Regions from separate parts of the Homo sapiens genome. Here regions 1, 2 and 4 are each linked to region 3. The links are contacts of gene promoters, found by promoter capture Hi-C in blood cells and fetal thymus (Javierre and others, 2016). All regions are on one chromosome and are shown on one strand. Each heading gives the region's core, a stretch centred on a gene start or on the middle of the fragment in contact. The rest is flanking DNA. Distances are from core to core; before and after follow the strand shown.

Region 1 (4,000 bases), core at 521-3,020, 67 kb after region 3:
CCATGGCTACTGTACCTGTGAGCTGGATTGTATTAACACAGCATCCAAGATCTACATGCAGATGCTCTTGTGTCCTGTACGTAGCATTACAATCCCAGAGAGCTCGCAGCAGCCAGGGAATATCTGGAAAATTGTTTTTAGCTTGCTAAGCTAATGAAATAAAATATATTTAGAGGAAGCTGAAGGGAATGAAGTTTCAAATATCAATAAAAGCTTTAAGATCTTACTCCATGGAAGAGAAAGATTTGGAAAGGGGATGGGCTCAGTCTTTCTTATTCAGTGCTGAATCACCAGGGACAGCCTACTGCTTGCTACATAGTAAGTGCTAGGTAACTCGGTGAATTGTGACTTAAATGAGCACATGAATGAAAGTAGTACATCAAGATTTCTATTTCCAGTGACCCTTTCACAGAAGCTAAGTGTTAAAACTACTGATTTTAGCACAGAGCTAAGACGTGCGCTGGGGGCTTGATCATCTGATAAAAAGCCAGAACCATTTGTAAGGGGCCAAAATGGCCTCAGGAGCAAATGACCTGCCAGTCCATCCCCAGGAACTGAGAGACAGGAGGTTAGCGAATGGCTCTTAATGTGTGCCAGAACAGGAAGCGGGGATTAACTTAACCTGCTGAACTTGGTCCGCTGGGTTGCAGGTGAGAGTAGAGAGGTATTCCACTTGCATGTGAGTGAGTGACCAAGAAAGGAAAGTGTTTTATAGAGAGTTTCATGAATAATATGAGAGCAAAGCGTGACAGTTTCCTTTTAAACCTCAGGATCCTGCTGTGAGCTTCTCTTGTAAACAAGCTCTAATTCGAGTCCTAAGGCCCAGGAACAAACGGAGACATGTGACTTTACCCTCTTCCCCTCGAAGCAACACTCCAATGGGTAATATGAGGTCTGGGTTTAGGCTCAAGCCTGTATTTGGGAGGAGGGGAGAGAGGGAGGTACAGTAGCATTGGGCATGCTGCTCATGTTGACCAAGGTCCTGGAGACTTTATGTATCTGTCTTTTTTCTAATCCTACCTCACCCCATAAAGAATTTAGGTGGCACATCAAAATGTATATAGTAAGTAGGATAAAAATAAAGATTAAAGGCCATGGGAAAATAAAAGTACCATAGTAAAATCAAAATACAGAAAATTCACATCACAAAGGTCCTGCATGGTTGGTAAGCGAGGGTCTTATATTTGGCTGAAAGCTTCCTAAGAGCCATAGCAAAAATAAAATCACAGTGACCAAAGACAAAACAGAAACATAACTTTTCTTGGGATAGAAGCTCTTCATTAAATGTCCATTTTGTTGCCAAAGGGGCAGAATCCTTAGTGGACTTACCTACAATAAGTTGGATAGCAAATTTCACAGGAATTTCCCTCACAATACACAGTACACAATACACAATACACAATACAGTCAAGGGCATAACATTTTACGATTCAGTAAAAGCAATTCTAAAAGGTGTCTGAATAACAGAATTATATAATTCTGGTTACTTGGCTTGATTTAGAAGTAAATTTCAAATGAAAGTCACTATGTACTTTTAAATTTTCTTTCTTTCTTTCTTTCTTTCTTTCTTTCTTTCTTTCTTTCTTTCTTTCTTTCTTTCTTCCTTCCTTCCTTCCTTCCTTCCTGCCTTCCTTCCTTCCTTCCTTTCTTTCCTTCCTTCCTTCCTTCCTTTCTTTCTTTTTTCTTCCTTCCTTCCTTTCCTTTCCCTTCCTTCTTTCTTTTCTTTTCTTTTTTTCTTTTCTCTTTCTTTCTTTCTCTCTCTCTCTCGTCTTTTTTCAGAGTCTCACTGTGTCACCAAGGCTAGAGTGCAATGGTGCCATCTCAGCTCACTGCAATCTCTGCCTCCCTAGTAGCTGGGATTATAGGCGCGTGCCACCGTGCCCAGCTAATTTTTGTATTTTTAGTAGAGACAGGGTTTCACCATGTTGGCCAAGCTGGTCTCGAACTCCTGACCTCAAATGATCCGCCCGCCTCGGCCTCCCAAAGTGCTAGGATTATAGGCGCGAGCCACTGCTCGGCCTGTACTTTTAAATTTTCTAATAGCAATATTATAAAGAGTAAAAAGTAAAATTGATTTACTAATTATTTAATCCAGTATATCAAATATTATATCTACATCTTGTCAATATAAAAAATTTATTAGTGAAATATTTTGCCTGTTTTGGTACCATTTTGGGAATCCAGAATGTATTTTACACTAGTGGCACATCTCCTTTTAGACAGCCATGTTTTAAGTGCTCAGTAGTCACATGTGGCTGGTGGACAGTGCACATCTAGAGGATTGTACACAACTTTGTGACTTTCAGAAAATCTTCCTTGCATATCATTTATCTTGCCTAAGCTTTTGGGTTAGGCAGCAGTTTGTGGCTCTTTTCCCTAGCAAGAACCTAGAGTGGAGATAGTTTATGTTTCTAACGGACATATTTACAAGCTTTAGCAATCCATCGAGTGGAAGGTGAGGTCTCTATCCTCTTCTGACAATTAGGAGTCTCACCTGGACATCTTCCTTATTAGAAGGCCTTCTCACCTTCACACAAAAGTGGGCACAGGCAGGACCTGCAGTGGTGTCCTTGGTTTCCAGTCAATGGTTTTACACTTCAATTCTGGTTCTTCTCATAGTAATTACGTAGTGTGAAAATCTCACTGACCTAGTTGTTTTAGAAAAAAATAGTGAAATAAATTCTAATCTGCCATGACAGACAAAAGGTAAAGATCCCAATCATATGATTTTTCCTGTCTTATCCAAGGTCTCCTGAGAGTTAGCGTGAGTTTGGGAGGCCTACTGGTTTTAGATCTCTCACCTTTATGGAAATCCCTTTGGAATCCAAGTTTGTTTCCTTCACCAGCTGGAACATTTTATTTTTGTGGGGGGCAAGCTGTCGCAGCCAACTCCATCTTCCCAGATGCTGTAGGTCCAAGAAGTAAGAGAACAAGGCCAGGCATAGCACCCCGGAGTTCTCCCGCTAAAGCCCAGGGTGCTAGCTGGTAGCTTGTCTTGGGTTTTTGTTGCCACCTGACTTATGGCACCATGTGCCAAGGGAGGAAAGCAAGCACCTTCAGGTGACTGGGGTTTCTTTGACTCAGGAGACAAGGATGATGATGACGATGATGATGCAGATGAGAAAATGCAGTCATCAGGGATCCCGAATGGTGGTCACATCCGTCAGGAAAGCCAGGAACAGAGTGAGGTGGACCATGGAGATTTTGAGATGGTGGTGAGTCTCTGGCAGCAGGAGAAGGGGAGGAGGAGCTTCACAACTCTCCTCTAGCTCTTATTCAGTGGACTTCCAAAAGTTACCACTTACCATGGGACACTGACAGAGCTTTCTCTCTGCAGTCTGAGTCGATGGTCCTGGAGACAGCTGAAAATGTCAACAATGGCAACCCCTCTCCCCTGGAGGCCCTGCTGGCAGGCGCAGAGGGCTTCCCCCCCATGCTGGACATCCCACCTGATGCAGATGACGAGACCATGGTTGAACTAGCCATTGCCCTGAGCCTGCAGCAGGACCAACAAGGTAGAAGGCCATGCCAAGAACAAAGCGGCCCATTGGCCTTGCACAGGAAAAGAGGGTTTGGCAGTTACTGATATCCAGCTGACTTAGTTTGTCCCCAGATATGGGGAGAGGTTGATCTGGGTGAGAGCTGTTCAGAGATACAGGTGGAGAGTGAGAGGGATGTGGTGGGAATTTCAGTCTGAGTGCCAATCTCATAGTTTCTGCCAGTTTGGGTTATTTCCTCTTGAATCTTAGATTCCTCCAGCCTGTGTCCTGCCTGAGCTGAAGGAAGCATTCCACCATCTCTGTAACTGAACTTGGTGGGTGGACAGCAGTGGCTGCTAGCTAACTTCCTCTAGGCCAGAGGGGGTCACATGCTGGTGTTTGGAGACTCTTGAGGGCAGCAGGTGGCCAAAGCAGCGCTGTGGATGGGACCTGGAGGGGATGTTGTGCTCACTCTCCACTTGTTTCCCAGGCAGCAGCAGCAGTGCCCTGGGCCTGCAGAG
Region 2 (3,705 bases), core at 1,049-3,548, 110 kb after region 3:
CTGGCAGGTTGTCTTCCTCCAGGGTGTCCTGTCCTGAAGCTCAGCATAGACTTGGAGGCAGGCTGCTTGAATTAGCGTGCTACCAAATCCCCCACTGGATTTCATCAGTGGTTACTTTGAGCTCCAATTTCTAGTCTGCAAAATGAGAATAATATTAATATATGTGCTCAGTGCCAGACATACAGGGAACTTTCCTTATTCTCCAATTTAGTGAAGTTGCTGTAATTTTGTCATTTATAAAAGACTTGATTCTTATCATTCTAGTCAGATTGTGGGTTTAGCTTAAAGAATTGTGGATGAACCCCCTCCTTGTATGGTTATATAAAGACGTCTGAATCTCTGTAGGTAAAGATTGATGTACTCTCTTTTCCTGTTTTGATTCCCGAGGCTTGAGTCAAAGCTCTTTGATTTAAATGGCCTTGTTTGTCCTGGGTAGTAGTCCCTATTGATTGGAGACAGTTTCTACTCCTGAGGAAGGTCCAGGCTTGGAATTAGACCTCCGCTTATAGCTTGGTAACCTTGAACAAGCTGTGTAACCTTATGTAAAAGGATCATAGAAAGTACTTAATTAGCATAGGACCTGGCACAGAGTAAAACATTCAATAAATATTTGTTAGATTATTACATAGTGTTCTAATGAAATTGAAGGAGATAGTGTCTTTAAAATGTTTCATACAATGTCTAGCTTCTAGTAGACACAAAATAAAATTAGCATTCTTTCCCCTAAGTGAATTGCTGTGCATTTGGATTCTAGATGTTGTGGTTGAGACTTTGTAGAAAAATAGAGGCTCTCCACATTGCTGGGGCTTTAAGCAAGACCAAGTATGGAGTCCTTTGCATTTGTCTGGGCCTGTTTTTAAGTACCTTTCTCCAACTTTCTCTGCTCAGGGAGAGCCCATGAGGATTGTTTATCGTATGCGGGGGCTGCTGGGCGATGCCACAGAGGAGTTCATTGAGTCCCTGGACTCTACTACAGGTAGATCATGGCACTGCACATTGGATCTGAGGCTTGGGACTCATGAGCGGCTCACGTCCCAGGACTTAGGGGCATTCTCAGTTGCTTCTCTCTTGTACCTCTGCATCAGAATTGTGGGGAGATTGTTTCTTCAATTGAGGAAAAAAAGAGGTGTCTGTGGCATGATGCAGATACCACTGAGTGTTCAAAAAAAAAAAAAAGAATACCAGCAAACTTTTAGAGGAAAATGCAATGAACAGTAAACTGGAGTTCAGATTTATTTTTAACTCCCTCTCCCCCCACTCCATTGATGGTATTGGTGCTCATACTTTGACATTTGAGTAAGTAATTTTAATTGACTTGAAACTTTAAAAAAGCTCCTACTGAGAGTGGGACAGTTTAATATCATCCATCATTGACCCCTTTTATTGGCCGTGTCTTTATTGGAGATACGGAAAAGGGCTGTCAGCCATCAGCCAGGAATAGGGCTGTCTTATCCTGGCCTATTTTATTCCCATCTTCACCTTACCCTCCATTTCTGCTTGGCTTCCCTTCTCCCCTAGATGAAGAAGAAGATGAAGAAGAAGTGTATAAAATGGCTGGTGTGATGGCCCAGTGTGGGGGCCTGGAATGCATGCTTAACAGACTCGCAGGGATCAGAGATTTCAAGCAGGGACGCCACCTTCTAACAGTGAGTTGGGGGCAGCAAGTTGTGGGGGCCAGCCTTTCTGCACTGGGAGAGGCCCCTGTGGAAAGAAGCTATGGCCACTGTGTCATTTTACCCTAGAGGGCAGCATGGTGCCGTGGAGCAGTGCGAGCCAGTGAAGGACCTGGCAGTTAGGACTACATTCTTAGGCACACCTTTTCCCGTCCTGCTGGCCCACTTCCCTTCTCCAATACCTCTCTATAGAGCCAGCATCTGACTGTCTTTCCCCAAATAGCTGCACTTGTGTTAACTATTATCATTGTTGTTGTTTTTAAAATGGATTTTGTAATGTAACTCATTTCTTGCATTGTAGGGTTTTGTTTGGGTATTCATCCAACTAATCTCCTTAGTGAGGATTAGAGCATTCCAGAGAGGCACCACAAATACTACACTGTTATTTTCACTACTCCCCACCCCCACTCCCCCAGGGTTTATGAGAATATGTATTATTGTTATTATTGTGCCTTTGTTTTAAATGACCTATGTGGTTCTGAGCTCTCACAGGCCACGAGCTTTGGGATCATTTTCTTTACTATTAGTTTAGGGTCTGAGTTGATGCTGGGATTTCCCCCAAGACAACAAACAGAGCATCACCTCTTCCATTAGGAACTGCTGTCATTGCCGTTGTATTAGAGATGGTAGAGATATATCCCGCCATTGGAGCTACCAGCCTAATGTGAGAGCCCAGCCATCTCACCATGTCCCCTGAAGAGCCGCTTCTCCCTCCTGTCCTCTTCATTTCAGGAGGAGCCCCTGCTGATGGTGTAGACCCTGCTTAGACATCCCTTTCCTACTGGCCCCCATGTCCTACACTCTCATGTGGCCTCATGGGTTTTGACTGGCTTTTCTTGTCAGGTGCTACTGAAATTGTTCAGTTACTGCGTGAAGGTGAAAGTCAACCGGCAGCAACTGGTCAAACTGGAAATGAACACCTTGAACGTCATGCTGGGGACCCTAAACCTGGTAAGGAGCATGGACTGCAGGTGAAGAAGAGTGGGCCTTGGAAGTCTGGGTGTGAAAGACCTCTCAGTTCTGGGCTCAGATGAAATGGACTCACGGCTTCTTCAAGCCCTTCATCTCTCTGGCTGACTGGTGCAGAGGCTTGGGTCATTCAGCTGCCCTTCTCCTCTGGCTGGCTCACCTCCTGCCCCCATGCTGCTGCCATGGCACTCAAGAGCTTCCTTGCTCCTTTCCTGAGTTCAGATCAGAGATAAGAGGAAGGCAGTCCCTTAAACAGTCTAGACTACACACCAGTGGGAAAGAAGTGCCCCTCTCCTTGGGGCAGCAAAGCTGCCTGTCATCAAAAGCTCACACGCTTGTCTCCCTCTCAGAACATGCATATACACGCACATACATACACACGGTCATACACACATGGTCTCTGGGGAGTAAGGCTGTGAGGGCATCCTTGAGAGCAATTGTCCTCAGCAGTTAGTGGCTGTGGTCTTATTCTGAGAGTGACTGAGTCTCCTTCTCCTACAGGCCCTTGTAGCTGAACAAGAAAGCAAGGACAGTGGGGGTGCAGCTGTGGCTGAGCAGGTGCTTAGCATCATGGAGATCATTCTAGATGAGTCCAATGCTGAGCCCCTGAGTGAGGACAAGGTGAGTGGGGCTCGGCCCCTCCATCTGCAGGCACTGAGAGCCTGCACTGTCTCATTGCCCACAACAGGCCTGTTTGTGTCTGGCTTAGCCCACCTGAGAATGGCGGAGCCTGCTTAAGCATTGGAATGTTAGGACTCAACTAATGATGACATAATTGTATCGAAATGTGAAATCTTTGGATTCAGAGCAAGCACAATTGCTAAGGATAGTCTTTCACTCAAAAGCTGCTCGTTAATGGAATCCTGGCATGTCTCAGTTGATAGACAGAGGCTTTAGTCCAACCTTTCATTTCATAGTTGAGGAATTGAATAGCCCACTTCATTTCCCTGGACTTGGCATTTCCTCAGCTGTGGTACATAGTTGGTTACTGGTGGAATCAGGCCTAGAACCCAGATCTCCAACTCCCAGAATTTCTCTCCACCTGCTATGCCTGTAATTTCCT
Region 3 (3,895 bases), core at 1,164-3,663:
CTGTATCTATTAGGATTTATTCCAAGCAACTCTGTATTAGATGGCTTAAAAGAAAAAAGAGATGTGCTATCTACCACTTTTGAAGCTCTGTAGTGAGGCACACTGACCTCATTTGTTTTTAGATTGCTGTACAATTTACAACCACCAAAGTGTGCAAATCATAAGTACAAATCATGGCTTAGTGACTACTGTGTGTGTATATCCATGTAAGCATAACTGTGTCAAGGTATAGAACTTTTCCAGCTCCCAGCAGGCCTCCTCATCACTACCTCTACACAAATCTTTAAACCATACCATTCATCAATGTCTGCCATTTTTACTTCATTGAATTCCCTGTAACATGACTGTATCATGTCTTTTATCATTTTAAATTTCAGTTCCTTGGCAGACACTTGGGATTAGAATGGAACAAGTATTTTAAGTCCTTCAGTTAATTCATAAAAGTTATTTATTGTTTTTTAGTTTCTATCTTATTTCCTGGACCAGAATATTAGAAGCTTGTGTTTCATCTAGAAGTCTTTTATTAGTCTCTTTTGTCATCTAAATTTATAACATAGATGCCATTCCAAATCTTTGTGGCAACACAAGACCAAACCTCCAGTACTGAAATAAATGTGGCATTTATAAAGGAAGTTCTTTATCTGGAGTGCTCTCTCCCAATCTATTAACCAGAAATATAAAGTATATAATAAATAATTTAGGTAAAGGTGAAAATCTCCCTGTGATAGTTTGCATTTGCCTTTTATTCTCCTGGAGAGGGAAGGGAGGACAGCAGATACATTTGATCTTTTATTTCCTGAAATTTCTCCAAGACAGCTTTTGCAGATTAATTTTGTCCTCTGGTTAAAATAAAATTCATGTCCCAAAGCCATTATAAAATTCTGGGTCTCCAGCCTTTCCTTAGGGCTCTGGTTCAGTATCTTGAAATACTGCAATATTTATAGTGTTATGGAAAGTTCTTTTTCATTTCTGATGTTTTTATGTTTAAGAAACTTGCTGTTATTATTATCCTCTGGTAAGTAGGCACTGAAGGAAAATCCCTACTGCTGTCATCAAAGCCACATTTTCCTCCAAGACCGGCTTTGACTTGACTGAATTTTATTTCGAATGTAAAGATGCAGGCTGGGCGCAGTGGGTCAAGCCTGTAATCCCAGCACTTTGGGAGTCCAAGGTGGGAGGAACCTAGGACTTCGAAAACAGCTTGGGCTACGTAGGGAGACCTGTCTCTTAAAAACAAACAAAAAAAATTAAGAGTGGTGGCCTGCACCTGTATAGTCTCAGCTACTGGGGAGGCTGAGGCTGGAAGATCACTTGAGCCAGGGAGGTGGAGGCTGCAGCCAGCTGCAACTCTGCCACTGCACTCCAGCCTGGGCTATTGGGCGACAGAGCAAGATCCTGTCTCAAAAAAGGTAAAGTAGGTCATATCTTAATAAAAGTGCAGATTAATCACTAGGTACCAATTCATTTATCAGTGTTACACACCAAGAACAAAAGCTCTTCCTAAACTTAGGGGGAGAATTTCAGGGCTTTAGGAATTTGAAACCGTCTTCACAGTTCCTTCCCAGTCTTATTTAGGCCAGCTGTAGGCCACAGGCTAGAGCTTGAAGCCGTCCACCAATATCTCACTCACAGGACTGTCCTTAATGCACGAATACCTTTCCTCGAGCAAACTGCTTTTCCCTCTTAGACCTTGTAGCCAGATCATTTTACCGGCAAAAGTCTCAGACATCTCCTGTGAATAAAAGCTTACATTCTTTCCTTGCCAGTAGAAAAAAGGGGAACACGTAAGCATACGTGGCAAATTGCAAAGAGGGATGCATTGTACGAGCTGGTCAGATTGTTAATGAGGGCAATCCAAACAGAAGAGATTTGAGTGCTAAGGGAATACGGATCAGTGATTAAAAGGTGTTGTGAGAGGGAGAAATCTTTGTAAACTATGGCGCTCTTTAGTATTACTATTGGGGGGATCTAGGCAGGGGAAGAAGCAGGTGAAAGCGTTTTAGGCTTCGGCCTCCTCTTGTCGTCCTTAGCTGTCCCAGGCCAGGGCCATTCTATACGCCGAGGCGTAGTCAACTCTGCTGCCCTAGACTTGCCCACTGAACCCATGCCCCAGACTCACCTTTACCCGCTGCCCGGAAGCCAAGTCGCTACCACCTGCTTGAGCAACTCCCACCGCGCAGGCTCAGAAGTTAACGCTCTCCCGCCTTTCCCCGCTGCGCTACCTTCTGAGCAGGCGCAGCGTCTCCGATCCGTTCCCTCGCCGCGGCTCGACCCCGGTGAGAGCAAAGGCCGCTCCGCGCGTCGCGTTTTTGACCCATGACGGCGGCGCGCAGTCTGACGCGACAGATTGCGTCACTTCCGCCCCCTCCTGGGAGGCGGCGCTGGGCCGGTGGCAAGCCCCCGGAGGGAGCCGCAGTAGTACGACGGAAGATGGCGACGAGCGGCGGCGAAGAGGCGGCGGCAGCGGCTCCGGCGCCGGGGACCCCGGCAACGGGGGCGGACACGACCCCGGGCTGGGAGGTGGCTGTGCGGCCCCTGCTGTCCGCGTCCTACTCCGCCTTCGAGATGAAGGAGTTGCCGCAGCTGGTGGCCTCAGTCATCGAGAGGTACCGGGCGGCGGCTCTGGCGGGCGACGCTGTTGTGGGGGGAGGGGATTTCGAGCCGGATCGTCTGGACCCGCTTTCCGGGCCGCCCCCTGCCCCCTTGAGGATCCCCGCCACAGCCACGGCTTCGGGGTCCCGGGCCCGGGGAGACTGGCTTGCCTGGGTTTCCCTCCGCCAACGCATGTAAATCACCTCTACCTCAGTTTCCCCTCTCGAGCAAAACTTTAGCGGCCTCCCTGCGGGAGGGCGTGGCCGGACATGGTTGAGAGTGAGATGCATTCGCCCTCTTAAGGGAATGTTCACGGGGCTGCCCCTTGGGTCAAGTCACAGATGAGTTTGCATTTCTCGCCCGCACTCATCCTCCTAGCCTGGGCCGGAGCGGAGCCGTACGGTATAATTTAATAACGGTCTCCCCGCGGTGCTGTAATCAGTGGGGGCACGTGCTATTTCTGTGACTGAAGCCACTAGCTACATTGATGACCTCTTTTTACGTTGCACTCCTTGTGCATTCCTACTGTATCGGTCTTTGATTAAAAACATTTCAGTGTGTGTCTGAGAGATCATTTTCCCAGAGGATGTGTGGTGTGTGTGTTCTCTTGCTGCCTCCCATCCCCCTCGCATTAAAATATCATCACATTCTTTTACAAACGGTACTATCTGTTGGTTTCCTTTTGTGTGTTTTTGTCTTTTTGCACAGCGATTCTTAGCTAGTGACAGTTATGTAGGTACAAAGATGGTGATCTCAGAGTGCCTGCCTTTTCCTGACATACTGTGCTCAGAGCAGTCTTTCATTAGTTTAATGGTAGACTTTTGCTTTTAAAGCCAGACTGACTTTCATTTTTCTAGCCATACCTCATTTCAGCAACTCCCTGCAATTGTTAACTGGGTCATTTTAGCTTCACGATGACAAGGGTATATCTAGCTGCTATCCAGAGGTTAAAAATTGCTATTTGTTACTCAAAGGAGGCCCACGGTTTGACAAATTGTTTTTGTGCTTTTTCTTGTTGTAGACTTGTAATCCTTTGGATGCAGAGTTTTTAACAAATTATAATAAAATAATGGTTGAGTTTGGTAACTTCACAGTCAGCTTTACAGACGGATTTTGCTATCTAATCATCAGGCCAGGAATGTTCTGAAGATGTAAACAGGTTTCAAATATACTACTTTCAAATTACGTGGCTGCTTTTTGTTTTAAACATTTGGATTGGCAGTATTTTTCCTGACTCATACTCATGTTACGTAGAATCAGTAACGTTCCAGTCTTTTTAGAGCATTTGCTTTTATGTTTTTCT
Region 4 (3,455 bases), core at 820-3,319, 95 kb after region 3:
TCAACAGCCTGCCTAGGGAGGGGAAGCTGAGTGAGGGGACCTCCAGGCTTCTCATGCCCATTTTAACTATTCTTACACAAAGGTCTAGACTTAGATAAAACCTTCTGTATTGGGAAGTAATTGTCATTTCTTGGATTAAGACAGCTATGCTCTTGCTCACAGGGCAGAAAGTTATTTCTCAAGAAGCTTCTTTAGTACACACACTCTTCGATTTCCACATGGTGCCTTTTCTCTGTATCTGCTGATACTGGATCTTCCTAGCCCATGTATCCCAGTGACTGAACCAGGGCATGTCATATTTAGGCCAAGAGAGGCACTCACATGGGTTATAGTGTTGACTTTCACAGAGACAGATCGCCTTTTTTTGAACTCTCAGGCATTGCTACTGAAGGGAGAACACAGGTTGACACTACTTGAATAGTAAGACTTACAGAGCTGTTCTGCACACAGGATGGAAGTATTGCTGTTATTCCAAGAGGCAGAATAAGGCTCATGTACCACAGCAACACGTGGCCATGAAGGCTGCCTAGGGAGGTTTTCTCTTCTTGCCTTGAAAAGCCTAGTTTAACCTTGGTGACCTGAAAGTAGATGCTGCACATTAGGGTGGCCCATTCCCCTCCAGAGGAGGTGGGTTTGATTTTTCATTGTGTGGAGTCAGCAGAGCTACTGGTAGACTATTTGGGTTCAGATCCCAGCTCTGCTACATAGCTCTGTGACCTTAGAGAAGCTGCTTAACCTCAGTTTCTGTAACTATAAAATGGAGGTAGGACCCCACTTCCAGGGTTTAAGGATTAAATGAGTTAGTATGTGTCAGGTGCTGAGAACAGAGCCTAGTACATAGTAAGTACTCAGTAAATATTAGCTCTCATTGTGTTATATAATCACCCCAAAATTATTACATACCTTCCTCTTTATGACTTGACTTAGCACTTGGTTCAGACCCTGATTTTCTTCCTCTGCCTCTCTAAAATAGCCTGGGTTTATCTTTCCAAGGTTGCTGTCAGGATGGGAACTTGGCATGCATCATCATTGCACCTCTTACAGGCTTCAGTGTGGCATGCTTTTGGAGTCATGGTTTCCCTTGTTATATACTTCTGTTGTTTTCCTGGAATTTCAAAAGGTATCATGTATAACAGCTTAAAGCACTTGTATGTTCTTTCCTTTTTTTATAGAGAAAAGGTAGTAGAAAACTTTTTTAAAACTGGCTTCCTATTATATGCCAGATTTCTTTTCCTTAGAGTAACCACTTAATTGCCTTAGAAAAATACATGGGACAGTCTTCCTCTTTGTCTCATCAGACTGTTATCACTGAGGGTTAGATGAGAAAATCTCAAGGCTGTCTGTCTTTCCTAGGCCAGCTCGCTGGCACAAAGCCAAGAAGGTTCAGCTGACCCCTGGACAGACAGAGGTGAAGATTGACCTGCCGTTGCCCATTGTGGCCTCCAATCTGATGATTGAGTTTGCAGACTTCTATGAAAACTACCAGGCCTCCACAGAGACCCTGCAGTGCCCTCGCTGTAGTGCCTCGGTCCCTGCCAACCCAGGAGTCTGTGGCAACTGTGGAGAGAATGTGTACCAGTGTCACAAATGCAGGTAAGTCATTGGTCATCCCCTAGGCCAGGGCTGTGCACATTCCTTGTTATTTTTCTGTAGTAGTGTCAGTGTGAGCAATTACAGTGTCTGATTCCCTCAGAACATTTAGAGAATTATGGGTTTGTAGAGTGGGTTCAAGGGTAGAAAGGGAGGAGGAAGAAGAGAGAGTGAGTGAGTGTGTGTGTGTGTGTGTGTGTGCATGTGCACACGAGTGTGTCTGTCCTGTGGCAGGGGTGGAGGGTAAGGGCGGAGGGAGGTCCAGAAGTTTAGCTCTGGGTCTTGCTTTCTTGTTACCTGGCTGCTTAAGTCATTCATTTGTTATTGTCCCTTCAGTAGCCCCTGCAGTAGTTACCAGAGTATATAAATGTGGCACAATCCATTTCCTCAGAGTGACCCCCACCCCACCCAGCCTTGTCACCTTACTGACCCAAACGCTTTGGTTACTCAGATCCATCAACTACGATGAAAAGGATCCCTTCCTCTGCAATGCCTGTGGCTTCTGTAAATATGCCCGCTTCGACTTCATGCTCTATGCCAAGCCTTGCTGTGCAGTGGATCCCATTGAGAATGAAGAAGACCGGAAGAAGGTGAGGCCAGATCTGGCCTAGACTCAGGGCTGTGGCCTTGATCTGGACTTTGGGCAGACCTGGTGCAGTGCAGTGCACTTTACTTTCTAGCCTAAGCCTTCTTCGACTCAACACCAGTTTCAGGGCCCAGCTTTTGGGTGGGAGCAAAGAATGGCATGAGGTATATTGTATTGAAAGACATGGTTTGCATAGGATTTTAGAAAAGTGTTGATTGGTAATGAAACTAGAGTATCTCCAGGTACAGATAACTTTGGATTTGGATGCTTTGCCCTGCATTTCTTCCACAGACTGCTTCATATTGAGGCTGCTGGCCCTCCCTCAGTATTAGATTGTCCAGTGCTAGTTCCCAGCCTGCATAATATGGGCAGGGGCGGGGGGAGGTTCTAGATATTAAAGAACAGTGAAAAAGGGGCACCTATAGGGTTAACAGAAGAACATTTAGCTTTGGAGTCAGAAGGACAGAAATTCTAATTCCAGCCATACTTTTAATACTTGTGTAACCTAGTATAAGTTACTTCTCTCAGCATTGTATTATTATATATCACAGATGTGTATTGTATTTTTATTAGAAATAATATACCCACCTCACAGGAAAGATTATTGTGAAGAACAGAGATAATGTATGAAACACAGTGCCTGACCTATAGGAAATGTTCTGGTAAATGGTTAGCAGTGAGGATTACTCAGGGAAAGTCATCAGCCAAAAAGCCTTCACTCAGTCCCTGTCTTTTCCTGTCTAGGCTGTATCCAACATCAATACACTTTTGGACAAAGCTGATCGAGTGTATCATCAGCTGATGGGACACCGGCCACAGCTGGAGAACCTGCTCTGCAAAGTGAATGAGGCAGCTCCAGAAAAGCCACAGGTAGTCCCACGCTGCAAAGGGCATTTGGATAAGGGCTTGGGTCTTGATCAGAAGACTGCCTCCTAGGTGAGATCACCTTAGGTGGGGAGCCTGACAGCTTACCTCTTGGGGTTGCAGGATGACTCAGGAACAGCAGGGGGCATCAGCTCCACTTCTGCCAGTGTGAATCGTTACATCCTGCAGTTGGCTCAGGAGTATTGTGGAGACTGCAAGAACTCTTTTGATGAACTCTCCAAAATCATCCAGGTAGAGAGCGGGGAGCAGCTTTTGGGTGTGTTTTGTCCAAGTGTTACTGGTGTTGTTTTCACAGCAGTCCTGCTGCTCTCTCATCTAGCAGTCCAGGTCTTGGTGTTGTCCCTGCCCAATCTAGCTGAAAAGGCAGGCAGATGGCTGCACCAAACGGCATCTC

The links. The method cuts DNA at HindIII sites, captures the fragments that hold promoters and counts their contacts. A CHiCAGO score of 5 or more calls a contact.
Region 1: a fragment that was not itself captured here is called in contact with the fragment with the promoter of UBR4 in region 3 in 8 of 17 cell types (megakaryocytes, erythroblasts, endothelial precursors and 5 more); the score reaches 10.9 in megakaryocytes.
Region 2: a contact is called between a fragment that was not itself captured here and the fragment with the promoter of UBR4 in region 3, in 8 of 17 cell types (neutrophils, erythroblasts, megakaryocytes and 5 more). The highest score is 9.7, in neutrophils.
Region 4: a fragment that was not itself captured here is called in contact with the fragment with the promoter of UBR4 in region 3 in 7 of 17 cell types (megakaryocytes, neutrophils, erythroblasts and 4 more); the score reaches 9.9 in megakaryocytes.

Annotation. Positions count from the first base shown.
Region 1 is chr1:19,140,862-19,144,861 of GRCh38, reverse strand. It overlaps UBR4 (ubiquitin protein ligase E3 component n-recognin 4), which reads left to right. Exons shown (of 106, transcript NM_020765.3): 54 at 1-76; 55 at 771-882; 56 at 3,085-3,215; 57 at 3,338-3,515; 58 at 3,970-4,000. Among named protein-coding and RNA genes, the nearest start is that of UBR4, 67 kb to the left of the region's middle. The HindIII fragment of the contact is 1,146 bases long and covers 1,198-2,343 here.
Region 2 is chr1:19,094,464-19,098,168 of GRCh38, reverse strand. It overlaps UBR4 (ubiquitin protein ligase E3 component n-recognin 4), which reads left to right. Exons shown (of 106, transcript NM_020765.3): 91 at 889-976; 92 at 1,519-1,646; 93 at 2,517-2,624; 94 at 3,144-3,263. Among named protein-coding and RNA genes, the nearest start is that of UBR4, 110 kb to the left of the region's middle. The HindIII fragment of the contact is 5,286 bases long and covers 1-3,705 here.
Region 3 is chr1:19,208,784-19,212,678 of GRCh38, reverse strand. It overlaps UBR4 (ubiquitin protein ligase E3 component n-recognin 4), which reads left to right and starts at 2,413. Exons shown (of 106, transcript NM_020765.3): 1 at 2,413-2,606. The coding sequence starts at 2,431. It overlaps EMC1-AS1 (EMC1 antisense RNA 1), which reads right to left and starts at 2,293. Exons shown (of 2, transcript NR_135114.1): 1 at 2,120-2,293. RefSeq lists silencers at 1,329-1,398, 2,424-2,743 and enhancers at 2,024-2,073, 2,324-2,373. The HindIII fragment of the contact is 5,774 bases long and covers 1,748-3,895 here.
Region 4 is chr1:19,113,536-19,116,990 of GRCh38, reverse strand. UBR4 (ubiquitin protein ligase E3 component n-recognin 4) reads left to right here. Exons shown (of 106, transcript NM_020765.3): 74 at 1,354-1,593; 75 at 2,042-2,180; 76 at 2,921-3,046; 77 at 3,164-3,292. Among named protein-coding and RNA genes, the nearest start is that of UBR4, 95 kb to the left of the region's middle. The HindIII fragment of the contact is 3,762 bases long and covers 189-3,455 here.